Regions from separate parts of the Homo sapiens genome. Here region 2 is linked to region 1. Evidence: promoter capture Hi-C in human tissues and cell types (Jung and others, 2019). All regions are on one chromosome and are shown on one strand. Each heading gives the region's core, a stretch centred on a gene start or on the middle of the fragment in contact. The rest is flanking DNA. Distances are from core to core; before and after follow the strand shown.

The links. Contacts are between HindIII fragments. The study calls those that stand out against the background at their distance.
Region 2: a fragment that was not itself captured here is called in contact with the fragment with the promoter of CCDC73 in region 1 in 1 of the 25 tissues and cell types used here (adrenal gland).

The regions. Positions count from the first base shown.
Region 1 is chr11:32,792,818-32,796,122 of GRCh38, reverse strand. CCDC73 (coiled-coil domain containing 73) reads left to right here and starts at 1,461. Exons shown (of 18, transcript NM_001008391.4): 1 at 1,461-1,510. RefSeq lists silencers at 2,966-3,085, 3,096-3,145. The HindIII fragment of the contact is 8,709 bases long and covers 626-3,305 here.
Region 2 is chr11:32,756,305-32,759,531 of GRCh38, reverse strand. All of the region lies in intron 2 of CCDC73 (coiled-coil domain containing 73), which reads left to right. It also overlaps the pseudogene RPL34P2 and the pseudogene LOC124902803. Among named protein-coding and RNA genes, the nearest start is that of CCDC73, 37 kb to the left of the region's middle. The HindIII fragment of the contact is 3,317 bases long and covers 1-3,227 here.

The sequences.
Region 1 (3,305 bases), core at 212-2,711:
TTACTATGGGGTAGTTAGGAATGCTTTCCCTAAAAAGGTGACATCTGGGCAAACGCTTGGAGAAAGGGAAGGAGTAAAAAGAATTCCAGACAGATTTTTACTGGAAAACGTGGTTAAAAATTTGAGGGCGGGGGGCCGGCTGCGGTGGCTCATGCCTGTAATCCCAGTACTTTGGGAGGCCAAGGCGGGCAGATCACCTGAGGTCAGGAGTTCAAGACCAGCCTGGCCAACATGGTGAAACCCCGTCTCTACTAAAAATACAAAAATTAGCCAGGTGTGGTGGCAGGCGCCTGTAATCCCAGCTACTCGGGAGGCTGAGGCAGGAGAATCGCTTGAACCCGGGAGGCGGAGGTTGCAGTGAGCTGAGATCGTGCCATTGCACTCCAGCCTGGGGGACAAGAATGAGACTTTTTCTCAAAAAAAAAAAAAAAATTTGAGGGCAGGAACCACTTCTTTTACATTTTGGTAGCATGCAAAAACAATGTAGGCCTGAAACATATTACATTCTTATTGAATGACTATTCAACATAACATACTGAAACATAGCATTAGTTAGGTGCTTAAAATAGGTGTGATTATCAGTATAATTAGAACTGCAGTTTTTTTTCTATTTCACTTTAAAAATTAAGCAACTTTTCTTTTCTTTTTTTTTTTGACAGGGTTTTGCTCCATTGCCTAGGCTGGAGTGCAGTGGTGCAGTCTTGGGTCACTGCAGCCTTGACCTCCCAGGCTCAATCTATCCTCTTGCCTCAGCCTCCCAAGTAGCTGGGATTACAGCCGCACGCCACCATGCCCGGCTGATTTTTGTATTTTTGGGTAGAGACGGGGGTCTCACCATGTTGCCTAGGCTGGTATCGAACTCCTGACCTGAAGCAATCCTCCCACCTCAGCCTCCCAAATTGTTGGGGTTACAGGCATGAGCCAGTGAACCCTCACACCCGGCTAACATTTATTTTTTGAATTAGTAACACATTCACATGAAGCAAACATCAAAAAGTATAAAAAGCTATTCAGTGAAGTCTCCCTCTCTCTCCCGTTCCCATCCACACACTTCCCATTGCTCCCCACAGGTAATACTTACTCATTTTTCTTTCATCTTTCCAAAGACTTTTTTTTTAAAAAACGAATATATCGGGAGGCTGAGGCAGGAGAATGGCATAAACCTGGGAGGTGGAGCTTGCAGTGAGCCGAGATCGCGCCACTCCACTCCAGCCTGGGCGACAGAGCGAGACTCCGTCTCAAAAAAAAAACCAAAAACAAACCGAAAACAAACAAAAACAAAAAAGAATATATAAGCCAATACATGTTGTACTTAAGGAAAAACATCAAATATCCAGGTATCTTTTCCGAAGCTTGTATTTAAAAAGAAAATAAAATCAATCATATTTTGCCCCAGATGCTCAAGATTACCCACGTATCTTAGGCTAATGACCTTCAAGCCGGAAGTGCCCTAGGGCGGGAAAAGGTGAACCGGAAGGGCCAACAGGAGCTAGAGGCGCGCTTCGCTGAGGTAAGTCGGAGCAGTCACAAGCGTGTAGTTGGGCTGTTTAGGAAGCAGCCCTAATCTTTTCATGCAGGGTCCACTTACGGGTTTGCCCTGCACCTCCAGCTGCGTAACCTACCCTTCCTTGCTCTGGTTGCCAAGGGGCTGCTTTGGCCTGGAGCCTCCTGACTGCTGGGCTGTGTCTAGAATCTTCCACGCTCCCGACCCAGGAGAAGCAGCCACACTGAGGCATCCATCTGGATCTCTGCTTGGGCAGGATTGAGACTGCGGGTGAGTCATGAGGGTCTCGTCTGTTCATCGTGGAGAAGCGCCTTCTGTACATGTGCCTTGCGTGGTGGTGGTTTTTGTTTTAAACCTCATATTTGCCTTATGAATGCAATGCAATCATGTCGATTGTTCTTCTGAAAATTTTCAAACAACTCTGACCGCTCAGAGTTAGCAACATTTGGAACTGTTATTGGTGAATCTCGACTTTTTCTTTGGTGAACGTTACTTTTTGCAGAATGTTTTAAGTATAGTGCGAAAGTTCTAGCGCAGTTGCAGAAGTGTGTAAATTCCCAGGGACATTTCTCTATTTTTTCTTCATTCTGCTGGTGATTTTGTTTCTCCCAAACTGCCTTGCACGAGCAAATTTAAATGGAATCTCACTGGGAATGAAATGACTGCCCTGCTAATCCTGATAATGCTGAATTCTAGATATAAATTATTTGGTCGGGGCGGTGGCTCACATCTGTAGTCCCAGCACTTTGGGAGGCCGAGGCGGGCGGATCACCTGAGGTCAGGAGTTTGAGACCAGCCTGGTCAACATGGTGAAACCCCGTCTCTACTAAAAATACAAAAATTAGCCGGGCGTGGTGGCGGGCACCTGTAGTCCCAGCTACTCAGGAGGCTGAGGCAGGAGAATTGCTTGAACCCGGGAGGCGGAGGTTGCAGTGAGCCTAGATCACTCCACTGCACTCCAGCCTGGGCAACAGAGCGAGACTCTGTCTAAAAAAATAAAATAAAATAAAATAAATTATTCATGTCATTGCTGCAATCTTCCACTTCACTTTGCTGCTGAAAATAAGTGACAACCCTTAAGTCATTTATGGGAACCTTTATGATCAGTGCACTTCTTTTAGAAAGAAAATGTGAAGATTCCACGGAGTCTTCTGCTTATATTGAGATCCTCGAATTGATGATTATTGGTTATTTTGCTTTAGTTGTGATAAATTCCTATGGCTCTCTTTGTTTTATACCTTGAAGAAAAAATCTATACTGAAATATCCCAACCTGAGAATCAGCAAATACGCTGTGGATGGAGTTTCCTCTGTAGTCCTTCACTGGTGTCTTCTCTCAGCCATTTCTTCGGCCAATTTGAGTCTTTACAACTCTCCCTGGTTTCAGGGTTGCCTTGGGGGTAGTTGTTAAGTTTTGGAAAATTAGATTCCCCACTTTGATGATTTATAAAGTGTGTTAATGCAGCTTGAGAAAACGTTTTAATTTCCATACGGCTTCATATCGTAGTGTCAGGAAGGAAGCGAATGACAGATTTTTAAATTCCGAGTGTCCACCAGGCGGCAGCATAGGGTTTTTAGTTTCTTTCGCTCTGGCCGTGTATCCCGTAATAACTGTACAGGTGCGGTGATAGTGTTATTCTAATAGTAATAGATATCATATGTGGAATGCTTATTACACGCCAGGGGCTGGAAGTTATCTCATTTAATCCTAAAAAAACAAACCCCAAACCCTGTACCGTAGGTATTCCCAGTATTCTCCTTACACTTCATGGGAAAACCATGGGAAAGAGATTAAATAACAA
Region 2 (3,227 bases), core at 397-2,896, 37 kb after region 1:
GGTGAAACCCTGTCTCTACTAAAAATACAAAAAATTGGCTGGATATGGTGGCGCATGCTTGTAGTCCCAGCTGCTCAGGAGGCTGAGGCATAAGAATTGCTTGAACCCAGGAGGTGGAGGTTGCAGTGAGCCAAGATCACGCCACTGCACTACAGCCTGGGTGACGGAGCAAGACTCTATCTCAAGAAAAAAAAAAAAAAAAAAGGAAAAAATGTTGGTTTCAGCAGGCTATCTATATTGTGCAAATCCCATTAAAAAGCATTTTATTTCTGAGACTTGTATGGGTCTAAATTTTAACTCTATATAGGATAGATTGGAGCTTGGAAGATTCTCGAGAGAAAAAAAACCATAAAACTATTGCAATAAGGATATAGAAATGAGTTCACTAGGACATATATATGACCATGAAGATAGAACAGAAGAGGCAGAAAGAAGAATCAATAGAATTTACTGACTTTCTGAAAATAAGCTATAAATGAGAGAAAAAGATCTGAAACAACATTTTTATTATATAATAATACAAATATTGTTCTAGGATTTTAAAATATTGAAATTTATTGTTACAATAACAAAATTTAAATACCACAGTGTTCATCCTATTTAAAGCTACTTATTATTGTAATAAAAGTCTGTTTTAAGATGAAATTCTGCTAAAAATGGTATTTTGGGTAAGTATTATAAAGAAGTGTTTTTGTAAAATTAGCTTAAAATGTTATCTTTCCTAAGTGAAACAACTTTTGGTCACTATTTAAAACTTAGTATTCTGTTTTATTATGTTTTAAATTTTATACTTTGGTCTGTTTATATTTCCAACTTAAAAAATATGCTTCCTTTAAAAATTTTCTGAAAAATTTCAGATTAGAAAAGGAATAGCGTTTTTTTTTTCTTTTATTACCCAAGAAAGCTTCATTTTAAAATTTAGCTTTCAAACTCTGTGCTTGTGCCTTCAACACTTTCACAAGGATTTTCTGCTCCTTGATGAAGAAAGCATGTTTGATCCTGTCATGGACACAATTAGCATACATGGAACCACCATAGGCTCTGCTGACACATTTTTTCAAGATAACCTCATAAGAACTTTAGGTCTCACAGCACAAACTCCTTGAAATCTACTTGGAGGCATGCCACGTGGAGATTTTGGTGCTTTCCTAACCTTCTTGGTATAAAGGTAAACAATTCTATTACCAGGGGTTTGGGACAGCCTAGTTTTGTTAGAGGCTGTATTGTAGGAAAGCCCATGATGATACGTCAAATGCTGGACCATTTTGAGTGCATCTAGATGCCATCCCTGGATGAAGAGGAAAATGTTTTTAATAATCAAATGTAAAAGTATATAATACTAGCAATCAAATTCCTCATTGAAAAGAGAGCTTTCTTCTTAAAAAGGGGAAAAAATCCCTTACTTTCATTAGAAAAAGACTGTTACTGTTTTTCCCATTTACCCTGATGGCGGTACTTGACCTGTATTCCTAGATTTCCCCCTCAACATTTTAGTAGGAAAATTTCAAACATACGTAATACTTGAAAGAACTTTACAGTGAACACCCATATACCCATTGTGGTAGACAGAATATGGCACCCAAGCATGTCCATGTCCTAATTTCAAGAACCTGTGAATATGTTACCTTATATGGCAAAAGGAATTTTGTAGGTGTGATTAAATTAAGCATTTTGAGATGGAGGGATTATGCTGGATTATTCGAATGGGCCCAGAGTACTCATAAGCATTCATATAAGAGGGAGACAGGAGAATCAGAGTCTGAGAAAGAGATGTGATAGTGGAACTAAAGGTTATAGTCGAAGAGAAAGCGACTGGAAGATGTTATGCTGCTAGCTTTGAAGATGGAGGAAGATGCTATGAACAAAGGAGCATATGTAAGTGGAAGCTGGAAGAAGCAAGGAAATGGATTCTCCCCCAGAGACTGTAGAAGGTATGCCGCCCTGCAGATACCTTGGACTTCTGACCTCCAGAACTGCAACAGAATAAATTTGAGTTGTTTTAAGCCACTAAGTTTGTTGTTATTTGTTACAGTAGTAATAGTAACCTAATGTACCTACTAATCAGATTCTATGCTTGATCTCATAGTATATCTATCTGTCATTGGTCTTATTTTTGGGATTCATTTCCAAATAAGTTGGAAATTATATGCTTCAGTATGTATATTATTAACTGGATTTTAATAATATTTGTTTATTTTTTCTTTCAATATAAAATTTATGTAGAATAAAATTCTTCACCCCTTTTCATCCAGAGGCAGCCCCTGTTCTAATTTTTTTCACTAAAGATAAGCTTATCTCTGTTCTAGATTTTTATATAAAGGGAATCATTCAGTATTTTTTTTGTGCAAGTTTTTTTTAACTCAGTGTAGTATTTTTGAGATTTATTCTTGTTGTGTGTGTTTGTAGTCAGTTCGTTTTTATCATTGAATAGTATCTATAATATAAATGTACCATAGTTTGTTGTTTTCATTAACATAGTTATGGATACCTAAGGGATTTTCAGTTGTTGTTTTTTATGAATACAGTTGCTATTCATATTGCTGTGCATATTCTTGTACCAGACATTTTGCAGGCATGTGTGATAAGCAAGAACAGATCTTATTCAGGAACTACTTATGAGATACTGATTTTGTCTCATGCCCTCCCAAATCTTTATTGCAAATTTTTAATACTTCTCATTAATAGTTTCTGAAGAGATCTTTTTATTTAGCATTTAAAACAGAGTGCAAAAAGATTGATACAATTAAAAATGAATAATTATATTTAGTTTTTGAAGATAAAAAAGTGGAATTAAAACACTGAACCACAGTTACTGTTAAGCCTGGATGGGACTGATTCTTAGGTCCTTGTATCGTTCGGAAGATATAAAGATACTGACCAACTACAGATATTCTTCAGTTAAGTAGGAATATTAAAATTTTAAGGGTAATGACTAAATAAATAGAAATAGGCTTTACATCTTCCCAAATGGTAGACAGAAAATATACAATTGTAATAAATTATCTTGGACTTGATGTTGTAAATAACCTTTAAAAGGATATATATAGATATAGATATATATGGAGATATATAGAGAGATATATATAGATATATATGGAGATATATATATAGATATATATATGGAGATATATATATAGATATATATATGGAGATATATATATAGATATATATATGGAGATATATATATAGATATATATATGGAGATATATATATAGATATATATATGG